Linked DNA regions of Homo sapiens: all the other regions are linked to region 1. Evidence: promoter capture Hi-C in human tissues and cell types (Jung and others, 2019). All regions are on one chromosome and are shown on one strand. The core of a region is centred on a gene start or on the middle of the fragment in contact, and the rest is flanking DNA. Distances in the headings are between cores, read along the strand shown.

Region 1 (4,430 bases), core at 918-3,417:
GGAAAGAGCACCGAGCCATGAGAAGTCTTGGTTCCAGCCCCACTGTATCTCATCAGCAAGTCCCTTCCCTTCTCTGGGCCTCAGCTTCTCTGCCTGTTCAGTAGCACAGCTGGAGTGAATTCATGTTTGTATGTCACTGGTGCGATGATGGAATGAGATGATTTTAGATGGTTCACACATAAATATTTTACATTTCATGTTTAAATCATTGTGTATTTAACGTGTATTAGAAATATAAGTACATCAAATCAATAATTTCAAGGATATCACTTAGGATGAGGCAAAAGCGGCTATTTAATTTTTTAAAAGGTGAGTTGATTTAAACAAGTGATTAGTTTAAATGGAGGTGCAGTAGCGGTTATGCAAATCTGTACATGTGATACAACTGCACAGAACTGTATGCACAACAAAAACATCAATGCAGGTAAAAATGGAGGAAATCCAAACAAGGCCTACAGTTCAGGTAATCCTATTGTACCAATGCCAGTTTCCTGGTTTTGACAATGTGCTACAGTTATGTTAGATGTTATCACGGGGGCAATGTGGGAGGGGAGACCAGAAATCCATACTATTTTTTAACTTCCTGTGAATCTAACATTATTTTAAAATCAAAAGTATAAAAAATGGAAATGGTCAAAAACATGGAGGGAATCCACAGATGACTAAGGACTGGAAATACTGGACTGAAAGCTTTCTTGTTGGGAGGCCGAGGCAGAAGGACTGTTTGAGCCCAGGAGTTCAAGACCAGTCCGGGCAACATAGCAAGACCTCGTCTGTACTAAAATTAAAAAAAAAACATTAGCCAGGTATGGTGGCCTGCACCTGTAGTCTCGGCTACTCTGGAGGGACTAAGGCAGAAGGATTGCTTGAGCCCAGGAGTTCAAGGCTGCAGTAAGCCATGATTGTATCACTGCACTCCAGCCTGGGCAGCAGTGCAAGACCCTGTTTCAAAATCAATAAAAGCTTTCCTGGGCAATTCCTCCAACAATCAATGTGGAAAACACACCAGGTTCTCTAGAGCAGACAACAGGGCTCCAGATGATCCCCCATCCTGCCCTGACCTGCTGACTTCTAACCCAGCTAGCTATTTGATTTGTGATTGGCCACTCAAGCAGTTTTAGGAATCTCTTGCTCTCCCTCTATCAGTTAACACTTTCCGAGGGAAATGTGTTTGATGGAGGTGCAGACACGGGTTTCTTCGTCTGGGCTCAGCTGTCTAGTGTGCAGGGCAGAACCTCAAATGACCACAGACACCACTATGCCCTCCATGCCATGCCCCTGGGGATGGGGTGTACCCTGGGAAGCAGACAAATGATCTGAAAACTGAGCTCCAGCTTCCCCTTGCCTCTCAGAACCTTTGAGTGGCTGAGAGTTCTTCCCCTCCAGCTCCTGAAAGCCTTGACCTCCACCACGTGCAAAAGGGAAAACTGGGGCCCTGGCGGGGACGGGGCCTCGCCCAAAGTCACACGGTGAGCTGGGGGCCCAGTCAGGCCTGGAGCCAGAATGAGAGCTTCGGAGCTGCCGGGGACGTCTGGCCCTGAGGAGGAGGGACCAAGGTGGGAGATGCTGCTGTCCCAGAGGCGGCCCTCTCTGAGGATGGAGATGCCAGCTTGAACTCGGACAATGCCCACCTCAGAAACCTGGGCCGAGAGGCTCCCCACAAATTCGACAGATGGTAATTGTCAGCGCCGGGAGAGCCCCTGGGAGACCACCTCTTGCAACCTGGCATTTCACAGGTGGGGAAACCGAGAAAAGGAAAGGACTGGTTCCAGACCATAAGGCCCGCTGGCGGCACAGCCAGGACCAAATCCCGGCTCGAGTGGCCCCCTTCCTCCCCCTGGGTCCGCCTGAGGCAAACCCGGGCAGGACCAGGAGCGTCCCCAGCTCGAGGGCCCCCTCGGGGTCACGGCGACACACGAATCGTACATCCCGAGTTGGGCTGCTTCGTGGGCGCGCGACTCGGCCCCAGCTGCGGGTCCCGGCCGCGCACCCGACGTCGCAGTGGAGGCTCCCGAGCCGCCGCCAGCGTCGCGACGGGCAGGGGTGTCCGGTCACCTGCATCAACTCGAAGATGTGGTTCTCCTCCCCGTACTGGGGCATCTCGGGGGGGATACGGTGCGGGGCGATAGTGGCGTCCATGTAGCCGTCTCGGCTCGCCGCTCCCTAGTAACCGCGTCGCTAGGGCCGCCGCGCCGACTGCGTCATCAGCACGCGCCGCGGCCCCGCCCTGCAGGCTCCGCGCCGGGCCCAGATACCCGATCCTCGGTCGCGCGGGTCGCCCCCGCCCCGACCTCCCCGGCTGACGCGCTCTGCGGCTCGGGCAAGTTCTTTCCCCAACCCCGGCCTCGCTTTTCCCATTTGCGCATCTTAGCGGGGGACACCCTCAGGTGGCTTCCAGCTGGGCCTCCTCGTATCTGAGACCCCCGACGAAACCCAGAAGGGGCAAGTCGGCCCTCCGAGGGGACGGGAGGCAGAACCTGCTTCTGGTTCTGTCAGTGCTCCCCGGCCCGGCTCCCTGTGCCTCAGTTTACCCATCTTTAAAACAGACGCGGGAATAAATGTGGGGGAGGGTGTTTGAAGGGGGAGGGGCGTCCATGAGATGGGCCGGAGGTTCGAGGATCGGGTGGAAATCCTCAGCCCAACTCCTAGAGTCGAGCCCCGGTAGACCCCTCCCAGCTCCCCGGCTCTGGCCAAGCCGCCAAGTGACCCGATTGCTATGGCACCGGCGGTAACAATCACGCCCGCGGCCCCGCCCCTTCTCGCCCGACGTCCCCACCCACCCTCGCCTCCCAAGTCCTGGAACGGGCCTCCCCACCCTCCGGGGCACCGACACTCACGGAGTCACTCCAACTTCTCTGGGTGCTCCGTGGAGCGAAGAGCGCTCTAGGACAAGCAAGGGTAAACAGGGATGAGTGTGGGTGGGCCCACTCGGACCCCACCCCGGCCTCTGGGTCAGAAACTGGAAGCTGGGGTGGAGGATGGAAAGATGGAGGGGTCCGGAGGATGGAGGGGCCTGCACAGCTGTCTCGGGGTGGGGGCGAGGGGAAGGTTCGCGCTGGAGACGGAGCTTTTTAAGTCGTATGAATTCCCAGTGGTACGGGGCAGCTTGATATTTTATTAGTCGCAACACTGAATTGGGATCTCTAGCTCTTGTCTGTTGCCGTTAATCGTAGGAGCTGTAAGAGTTTGTTGAACTCTTTGTGCTCTCGGCAAAATTCTGTTGTCTCTGTACCTTATGGAGAGGGAAAATGGCACAGTCAATGCAGACAGCCCCAGCTTCAAGTTCTGGCTCCGCTTCTTACTGTGTGAGCTTGGCAAACTCTCTGCTTGCTCCGTGCCTCACTTTCCTGCCCTGTGAAGAGGGAACTGCTGAAGGATTTCAGGAGCTAATGTATTGGAGAGTAATTGGCATGCAGTAAGCACACAATATATGGGGCTACTATTAGTAGTAGTATCTCATTTAATCGTTCCAACAATCCTGTGAAATAGGCACCTTCATTCCCATTTTACAGATGAGAAGTTGGAGGATTAGAACAATGAGGAGTGGTTGGCTGGGTAACTTTGGGTGAGTCACTTCCCCTTTCTGGGCTTCTTTTCTCATCAGTTGTTGATCATACAGCCTTAGAACCAGAAGGCCTCTTGAAGAAGAGGCTAATCCAAACTCTCTCATTTGACAGATGGATAAACTGAGGCCCAGAAAAGGGGGAAATCTTGGCTAGGGCCACTGGTTAGATTGGGCAGAGCCAGGGCATGAACTCTGCATCCAGGCTCCAGCTAAAGCCCTTTTCTACCAGCCATCAGCCCAGAGACATGCCCTCCCAACGTAAAAGCCAGCACTGTTGCCTCTTCCCCTCCAAACCGCTTCCTCAAAGTGTGTACACCTTGGTAGGCTTGTCAAACCCAACTGTAAAGATAGCTGGGGAAGAAAAGGAAGCTGCCTCCCCCTGAGCAAAGAACACAACAGCCATGCCTGCCATTTGCACTGGAGAGGTTTGTTTTGCTTCCTGGACATTTCTGAAATGACTTGCCTTTCTCCTCATTTATTTTAAGCCCTAGGCGCTTTTCCTACCATGATTCAATCTTCTTTAGCAGCCTGGAAAAATACAAATCAATTAAAGCCTAAAACCTATGGGTAATCATTTTTTTCCTCCCTCCTCCCCCAGATCGAGAAGTGCCCGTCCCCTGTGCCCTTCATCCACACTAATTTGGCTGCAGTGGCTCTCGTTCAAGGGACGATCACTTCGGATAGCTTATTACAGCTCCTCTCATGACATTCCTGGCGTGCATGTCACAAGTTGCTAGGATCAAGAACAGAGTCAGTTCCTCTCAACCACTACCAACCACAGCTCCCACCATGATGAGGGAAAAGCCAGGCCGAAAGGGCACACGCCCTTTCTCCCTGGAACTCCACCTATGTGCTCTCTCTCACT
Region 2 (4,430 bases), core at 1,246-3,745, 220 kb before region 1:
TGTGCAGTAGGGAGAAACATGGTAAAACCACTTTTAAATTCAACGGGACATTAGTGAAAGCATGTGCTTAAAACTTGTCCCAAAAGGGAGCCTGCTTACCTCTCTCGTTGGCACGAGCACCAGGGCATAGGGGCCATCACTGCGCTGTTGACACACAGAAAAAAAATGCCATGAGCAGGATAAACAAAGGCAGACTCCAAACGGACAGGACACAGGGGTGGCCGGTTGTAGAACATCAGAAGCACTCTTAATGAAGAAAGGGACAAAATAAGGTTGCCCACTGATGTGGTCTGGCTGTGCCCCCACCCAAATTTCGACTTGCATTGTATCTCCCAGAATTCCCACATGTTGTAGGAGGAAGGGCAGGGGGGCAGGAGTGAGGTGGTAATTGAATCAGGGGGGCCGGTTATTCTCGTGATAATGAATAAGTCTCACGAGATCTGATGGGTTTATCAGGGGTTTCTGCTTTTGCGTCTTCCTCATTCTCTCTTGCTGCTGCCATGTAAGAAATGTCTTTCGTCCTCTGCCATGATTATGAGACCTCCCCCAGCCATGTGGAACTGTAAGTCAAATTAAACCTCTTTGTCTTCCCAGTCTCGGGTATGTTTTTATCAGCAGTGTAAAAATGGACTAACACACCCACTAACCCCATTATTCTAGAATACTGTTCTAGAGGTCCTGGCCCATACAATCAGACAAGAAATATGATGTATAAAATTAGAAAATAGGAAACAAAATTATTGTTAGCAGATGTTATTTTATCTTACAAAAAAAAAAACCATAAGAGAACTAATGTAAAATCTATTACAAACAAGATAATTTTGTCAAGCAGCTGAATGCAAAATTAACATATAAAAATCAATAGCCAGGTGCAGTGGCTCACGCCTGTAATCCCAGCACTTTGGGAGGCCAAGACAGGCGGATCACTTGAGGTCAGGAGTTTGAGACCAGCCTGGCCAACATGGTGAAACCCCGTCTCTACTAAAAATACAAAAATTAGCTGGGCATGGTGGCGGGCGCCTGTAATCCCAGCTCTTCGGGAGGCTGAGGCAGGAGAATCACTTGAACCCAGGAGGTGGAGGTTGCAGTGGGCTGAGATCGCACCATTGTGCTCCAGCCTGGGCAACAAGTGAAAAACTCAGTCTCAAAAAAAAAAAAAAAAAAAAAAAAAAAAAAAAAAAAAAAAATTTCAACAGCCTTCCAATATAAAAAGTTAATAGCAACAAAAAAGATAAAAGGAATATAAGCTTAGCAAAAAATATACAAAATCTATATGAAGAAAATTTAAAAACACCTCTGAGGGGCATAAAGTAAATTTTGAATAAATGGAAGGATACACCCTATTTCCAGATAAGAGGATGCAATAGTACATATAAGCTAATTCTCTCTAAATCACTCCATAAACGTAATGTGATGCTAATAAAAATGCCACAAATGTGTATATATAAAATAACATATATAACCAAACAACCTGATTTGAAAGTTCATATGGAAAAATAAATGTACAAAAATAACCAAGACATTTATGAAAAACATCAGATGTTAAAATAATTTAAAGCTACAGCAATTACAAATAATGATACTGGCACATGAATAGAGATTATAATAGCAAATAAAGTTGAGAATAGAATCAAATAGATAACAAAATTTAGAAAATAATATAAGGGCCATTTTATATCAGCAAGAAAAAGATGGTTTAATTCAAAAGTCCTGTGAGAAAAAAATAAAGTTAGGAAAACAAAGCTGGAATTGTCCTTTTAACAGATGACATAAAACTCAGAAACCTTAAAATAAAACACTGATACGTTTTATTACCTAAGAATTTTAAATTTCAGAATGGAAAAATAATACCTAAACAAAACCAAGAGTCAAATGATAACCTGGGGAGAAAATATGCCACACCTGAGAGAAAGAGCTAATTTCCTTAATTTATATATTTTAAAAAGCCCTGTAATTCAATCTTTAAAAAAAGACCAACTTGGCCAGGCACGGTGGCTCACGCCTGTAATCTCAGCACTTTGGGAGGCTGAGGTGGGTGGATTACTTGAGGTCAGGAGTTAGAGACCAGCCTGGCCAACATGGTGAAACCCTGTCTCTACAGAAATACAAAAAAAATTAGCCAGGCGTGGTGGTGCATGCCTGTAATCCCAGCTACTCAGGAGGCTGAGACAGGAGAATCTCTTGAACCCAGGAGGTGGAGGTTGCAGTGAGCCGAGATCGTGCCATCGCACTCCAGCCTGGGCGACAGAGCGAGACTTCATCTCAAACAAAACAAAACAAAACAAAACAAAATTCAAATAGAAAAATGAATAAAGGGCCGGATGTGGTGGCTCATGCCTGTAATCCCAGCACTATGGGAGGCCAAGGCGGGTGGATCACTTGAGGTCAGAAGTTCAAGTCCAGCTTGGCCAACATGGTGAAACCCCATCTCTACTAAAACTACAAAAATTAGGCGGGCGTGGTGGTAGGCATCTGTAATCCCAGCTGCTTGGGAGCCTGAGGCAGGAGAACTGCTTGAATCCGGGAGGTGGAGGTTTCAGTGAGCCGAGATTACGCCACTCCACTCCAACCAGGGCAACAGAGCGAGACTCTGTCTCAAAAAAAAAAAAAAAAAAAGAAGAAGAAGAAACATAAAGCAGCTGAGAGCATTGGAGGGCATGGGAAAACTGGACCTTCTACACCGCTGCTGGAGTGCACACTGGCATATTCCCTTTCAAGTTTAATGTTGGCATTATCTACTAAAATAAAAATGCACATTCCACTTACAGAAATTTCTCCTATAGACCATATGTGTGTGTAAAGAGGTTGTAGAATATTTTACAGACTGTAGAGTATTTAAGTGGCCTTGTTTGTAGCAAAATACTGAACATAATATAAATTCCACCAACCAATAAGAGAATGAGTCAGTAATTCACGGTACATACATACATACAATGAAATGCTAGGCAGTCATCAAAAAGAACAAGGTAGCCCAATATGGTGCTAATTAAGGAGCCCAAAACACATCAAAGAAACCAAAGCAAGGCACAGAACATCCTGCATAACAAAGCAACCACTCATGTATCAAACCAAGCAAAACAGAAAAACAAAAAACTTCACAAAATTGGTAAGAGGAATTACACATCCTCAAATTTGCTTGATATGCAGAGAATTTCCCCAGGAGGATATACAAGAGACTGGTAATAACCACCATGGCATCTTGAGAAGCAAACTGTGCCACTAAGGGAAAGTGGGAATAGATGACTTTACTTTTCGCTATATATATTTTTGGTACTCTTTGAAATTTTTAAAACATATATGGTACATTATATCTAAAAAGTATTAATAAAAAAAACAGAAGAAACCAAAGTAATCCGAAAAAGGCCCCTAAGCCAATGGTGCCTTGCACATTCAAAGTGCTCAAAGACACTGAATGAATGAACAAAACAACGTTACTGCCAAAGCTAAGCACAGAGTTAACAGCAAATTCAATTACAAGTATGGTTTTCGTGTTTTGCATAAGAAACATTTACCCAAAAGAAGAAAAGGATTTGGAATTCAAACCAGAGTTGTCTGTACTCAACATCGACTTTGTGAGACTACACTGAACGCAGGCTAGGAATGGTAAATATGCTAGTACAACAGCAGCAACGTGCCGCTGTGTGACGTTAGGAGATTCTGACATTTCAAAAGGTGTTACTACATAGAGAAGAAGAAAGAAAAATCAATTCCTCACAGGGCACAAGTAAGTGAGGGAGGATGGATATGATGTTAAAAAAAAAATCAGAGCCAAAATAACTGAAGAGTGTGAACACAGAAAAGCAGTCCGTTCTCACGCCATCACCAAAGTAATTTAAGGATCTGTTGGGTGCCTTAAATTTGCTGTGCCCTCCAGATAAGCTTTTTACAGGTCAAATCATTTTACAATGAACTCCAAGGGACTATATTATTACTTGAAATAAGTGAATTAAATTGAGGCTTGGAAAACTGTGTTTCTACAGAATATTCCAGTCTTTAATAGAATGACCGACCTGTTCGTGATTTTTTAAAATATTGCAGCAAGTAAAATATGACATATAACCAATCAAATCACTGCCCCTCCAACTAGCCACATGACCACGTTGCTGACGATGGCTAAAGCATGATGTCACCATGCACTGCCCGTCGGGTCTCAACACTGCACATGCATTAGCTCAACCCTGATCCCAGCCCTTGGAGACAGGCACTGACCGCTACCATCCCTGTGCCACAGCAAAGGCACTGAGGCACAGAGGATGAACAATTTGCCTCAAGTTACCCTCAGACCCAGGATTGAGCACAGCTGCCCACCACACCATTCCCCTGATATGTATGTCATCAAATCTCTCTCATCCTCCAGTCATGGATCTATGAAATTAGAGTTAGGCTAGAACTGTATAAGCCATTCCAGCTCAAATAGTCCAAACTCTTCA
Region 3 (4,430 bases), core at 1,314-3,813, 150 kb after region 1:
GTGGAAACACGTGGTTCTTCTAGCTCAACCATCATCTGCTGGTGGTTGATTTCCCACTGTACTCTCAGGAGGTGTTCTTTCAAAGCTTTGGGGCTCCTGACCCAGCCTTCCAATTACAATACAATATATTTCACATTGAGGTTACACTTTAGAATGTATTCAGTGGGCTGAATTCATGTAGCTATTTATTCTGCCTTCTTAAACCCAAGGAGAGCAATCAGGTACTCTTCTGATTAAGAAATCACAGGCTGGGCACGGTGGCTCACGCCTGTAATCTCAGCATTTTGGGAGGCCGAGGTGGGCAGATCATGATGTCAGGAGATCGAGACCATCCTGGCCAACATGGTGAAACCCCATCTCTACTAAAAATACAAAAATTAGCTGGGCGTGGTGGCGCATGCCTATAATCCCAGCTACCCGGGAGTTTGAGGCAGGAGAATCGCTTATACCAGGGAGTCGGAGGTTGCAGTGAGCCGAGATTGTGCTACTGCATTCCAGCCTGGTGACAGAGTGAGGCTCTGTCTCAAAACAAACAAACAACAAAAAGAAATGACTTTAGGCAACATAGTGAGACCCCGTCGCCACACACACACAAATACAAAATTAGTCGGGTATGGTGGTGCACGCCTGTAGTCCCAACTACTCAGGAGGCTGAGGCAGGAGGATCACTTGAGCCCAGGAGTTCGGGGCTGCAGTGAGCCATGATCACACCACTACACTCCAGCCTGGGTGACAGAGGGAGATCGTGTCTTTCAAAAAAAAAAATCACTTCAGAAACGGGGTACCCATACCCAAGGGGTCACTTGCTCTTACTAATTTCTAGCTGTAATGCAAGTGGCATGATCATAGCTCACTGCAGCCTCCAACTCCAGGGCTCAAAGGATCCTCCTGCCTCAGCCTTTTGAGTAGTTGGGACTACTGTGGCATGCACCACCATGGCCGGCTAATTTTGTATTTTTTGGTAGAAATGGGGTCTTCCCCTGTTGCCCAGGCTGGCCTCCAACTGCTGGGCTCAACTGATCCTCCCGCCTCAGCCTCCCAAAGTGCTGGGATTACAGGCGTGAGCCACTGTGCTGGGCCATGATTCTCATCTCCCAATATTCTCAAACCCAGTCCCTTCATCTCTTGACTGGATTATGCAGTCTCGGAGCTGGTTTATCTGAACTCACTTTCTCCCCCTTTGATCTGTTCTCCACACAACAGCCAGAGAGGTCTTTCAAATGCATGAATGGGATCACTGCTCCGCATAAAACCCTTCAAGGGGCCAGGCGCGGTGGCTCACGCCTGTAATCCCAGGACTTGGGGAGGCCGAAGCAGGCGGATCATTTGAGGTCAAGAGTTCAAGACCAGCCTGGCCAACATGGTGAAACCTCGTCTCTACTAAAAATACAAAAATTAACCGGGCATGGTGGCAGGCGCCTGTAATCCCAGCTATTCGGGAGGCTGAGGCACGAGAATAGCTTGAACCCGAGGCGGAGGTTGCAGTGAGCCGAGAAAGCGCCACTGCATTCTAGCCTGGGCGACACAGCGAGATTCCTTCTCAAAAAAAGAAACCTTCAGGGGCTCTCCACGGCACTGGGAAGCAGCCAGCCCGACGGGTGGACCCTTTTCGTGGGTGCGGGTCTCTGACCTCGGTCGGCCTCGGACCTCATCTCCTCCCTGTTTGAGGGGCCACACTCCTCGCTCCGGGGCTTTGCAGCAGCCCTGGGCGCCTACCGGACAGACGCCGTTCTCCCCGCCTGGGTCTTGAGTAGGGCCCAGCACACAGTAGGCGCTTAATGTCTGCCTGCCTAACAGACGAACGCCGGATGCCCGCGTTCGGCCCCGAGCCGGCGCTTCGGGGCTTTCTGTGGAGGCGGGGCGATGGTTACAGCACAGTTCCCCCGCGCTCGCCTTTTCCACATCCACCTCCGCGAGGCCCCCCGCAAGCGCCGTTGGAAACCTAGTCCCGAGGGGGCTGCAAGAGCTTGGGAGAAGAAGCGCCAACACCGACAGAATACCAGGCCGACCCAATGCGGAAATCAATTCTCAGCCGGGACCTTTTCCCCACCAAGCAGGCGGGCCGGAAGTCTGCCTCTGGCCCGCCCCCGAGGTGTCATTGGGTGGAATACCCAGAAGAGGGCTGGGACGTGGTTAACTCTAGTTCTTTATTGGTTAAAACGTACGAAGCTGGAGGAGAAGGTGGGACCTAGCTTCCTCCGGACTTCTCATTGGCTCAAAAAAAAACTCGCTCGGCCCTCGGATTCTCATTGGCTGAAGTCGAGGGAGGTTTGTGTCTTATTATCCTCCGGGTCCCTCGCTGGCTAGTAGGAGAGACTGGTGCTTGCCCCGCCCGGTGGACTAACTCGCTTAATTTTAAATAAAAAGTCGAGGACACGGCGGTCGTTTTCCCGAAGACATGGGCCCTCCCATGGGCCATTTGCTCCCTGGAGGCCCTCGCGTCTTGCTGAGCCCGGGGAGTTAGGATGACGCGAGCGGTGAGGGAGCCCGGAACGATTCCTTCGCGGAACAATTGAGGCGAGGCCTTTGGGAGTACTTTGTGGGACGGACCCTGGCGGGCCCTGCCAGACGCACAGGGATGGCGGCGGAGGCGGCCGATTTGGGGCTGGGGGCCGCCGTCCCCGTGGAGCTGAGGCGGGAGCGACGCATGGTGTGCGTGGAGTACCCGGGAGTGGTGCGTGATGTGGCTAAGATGCTGCCGACTCTGGGCGGCGAGGAAGGCGTCTCCCGGGTAAGGGGCTGGGAATCTCGGTGTTGGAATAAGAGCTCGGAGTCGCAAAGAAAACGAGCACTCAAAGGATTTCTCAGCAAGGGAAATTTAGCAAATTTACTTACGCAGAAGGGTGCTGCTCGCTCTTCTGGCCGCTGCAAGAGAGCCAACAGAACAAAGAAGGGAAGGATTTTTGTTTTTGTTTTTGTTTTTTTGTTGGTTTTTCAGGCGGAGTTTCGCTCTTGTTTCCCAGGCTGGTGTGCGGTGGTGCGATTTTGGCTCACTGCAACCTCCGCCTCCAGGGTTCAAGCGATTCTCCTGCCTCAGCCTCCAGAGTAGCTGGGATTACAGGCGCATGCCACCACGCCCGGCTAAATTTGTATTTTTTAGTAGAGAGGGGGTTTCACCATGTTGGTCAGGCTTGTTGGAAATAAATTTTGGGTGCCGCAAAGAAGAATCAGCACTCTGGCAAACAGTTTTCTCAGCAAGGCAAATTTCCTTCTATAGAAGGGTGCATCTTGCGGATGGAGCAATGGCGAGAGCACACCGACAAGGAAGGGGAAGGGGTTCCTATCTCTTACACAGCTAGTCTCTACTGCTGTGTCTTTCCCATATTGGCTAGGGTTGGACCGCACAGTCTAAGCTAATTCCGATTGGTTATTTCAAAGAGGGCAGGGGCACAGGCCTGAGTGGCGGGGTGAGTAGTTTTGGTGGGAAGGATGGTTACAGAGCAGGTGACTCAGGATGACTAAGGACAGAGCAGGTGATAGAAGCTAGGAAGGGGTTGTTTACTGAAACTAGGGGCAAGGAGGCGTAAAGAACGAGGGGTTAAACTTTAAAATGGAGAACAAAGAACAGGGAAGCTGAACATACTGACATATTGGTTCTTTGAAATGGAACTCATAACTCATTGTATTTATTAATTTTCCCCCTCTTGAATTTAAAGGAAGGTAAAAGGCTAAAATCTTTGAAGTGGAATTTACTGTGTCCTATAGGCTGGTCTTGAACTCCTGAGCTCAGGTGATCCACCCGTCTTGGCCTCCCAAAGTGCTGGGATTATAGGCGTGAGCCACCGTGCCCAGCCTGGAATGGGTTTTTATCCCTAAGGCAGTCAGTCCCTGTTTTTGTGTCCTGTCCCTGCTGGTTGGAGTTGGACCACACAATCTAAGCTAATCTCAATTGGCTATTTTAAATAGAACAGGGGTGTGGGTTACAGTGACGGGACGAGCGATTTCGGTGGGAAGACTAGTTTCGGCGGGAAGGGCAGTTAAACAGAGCGGGTAACTAAGGGCAAGGAGGCACAAAGAACAAGGAAGTTAGACTTTGAAGATGGAGAACAAAGAACAAGGGAGTTGAACAAGCTGAACCTTTGAAGAAGAATTCACTGTATAGAACAGTTTCCCCCTCTTGATTTTCATACTTCTTTCTCTTCAAACCTTTTTAGCATGTCTCGACTTTGCTGTTCTTGGTTTTCTAAAAGTAGAAGTTTGTCTGAATAAGGCGGGGGGAAATTGGAGGTTAGTGAGAGCTGTCTCCGTAAGTCTTTGTATTAACCCTCAGGCACAGGGTATGATACAACATCCTACGAGAATAAACACGTTTATTACAATGGCAAGGGACATAAGGATCGAGGACATAAGTCCTTTCCACCTGCCGAACAATCTTCCCGTTAGATCAGTGAAGAGATCGTTTATCCCAGAATTTTAAGCTAGCTCATTGG

What was found. Contacts are between HindIII fragments. The study calls those that stand out against the background at their distance.
Region 2: a fragment that was not itself captured here is called in contact with the fragment with the promoter of AK8 in region 1 in 3 of the 25 tissues and cell types used here (dorsolateral prefrontal cortex, lymphoblastoid cells and spleen).
Region 3: the fragment with the promoter of GTF3C5 here is called in contact with the fragment with the promoter of AK8 in region 1 in 1 of the 25 tissues and cell types used here (ovary).

Annotation. Positions count from the first base shown.
Region 1 is chr9:132,876,117-132,880,546 of GRCh38, forward strand. It overlaps AK8 (adenylate kinase 8), which reads right to left and starts at 2,168. Exons shown (of 13, transcript NM_152572.3): 1 at 2,056-2,168. The coding sequence starts at 2,139. SPACA9 (sperm acrosome associated 9) reads left to right here and starts at 2,782. Exons shown (of 4, transcript NM_001316897.2): 1 at 2,782-2,898. The HindIII fragment of the contact is 8,008 bases long and covers 74-4,430 here.
Region 2 is chr9:132,652,349-132,656,778 of GRCh38, forward strand. DDX31 (DEAD-box helicase 31) reads right to left here. Exons shown (of 20, transcript NM_022779.9): 7 at 100-144. Among named protein-coding and RNA genes, the nearest start is that of DDX31, 15 kb to the right of the region's middle. The HindIII fragment of the contact is 4,990 bases long and covers 1-4,430 here.
Region 3 is chr9:133,028,434-133,032,863 of GRCh38, forward strand. It overlaps GTF3C5 (general transcription factor IIIC subunit 5), which reads left to right and starts at 2,564. Exons shown (of 11, transcript NM_012087.4): 1 at 2,564-2,731. The coding sequence starts at 2,579. LOC105376306 (a long non-coding RNA gene) reads right to left here and starts at 1,989. Exons shown (of 2, transcript NR_135119.1): 1 at 1,717-1,989. RefSeq lists enhancers at 1,745-1,994, 2,229-2,880, 2,325-2,584. The HindIII fragment of the contact is 13,557 bases long and covers 1-4,430 here.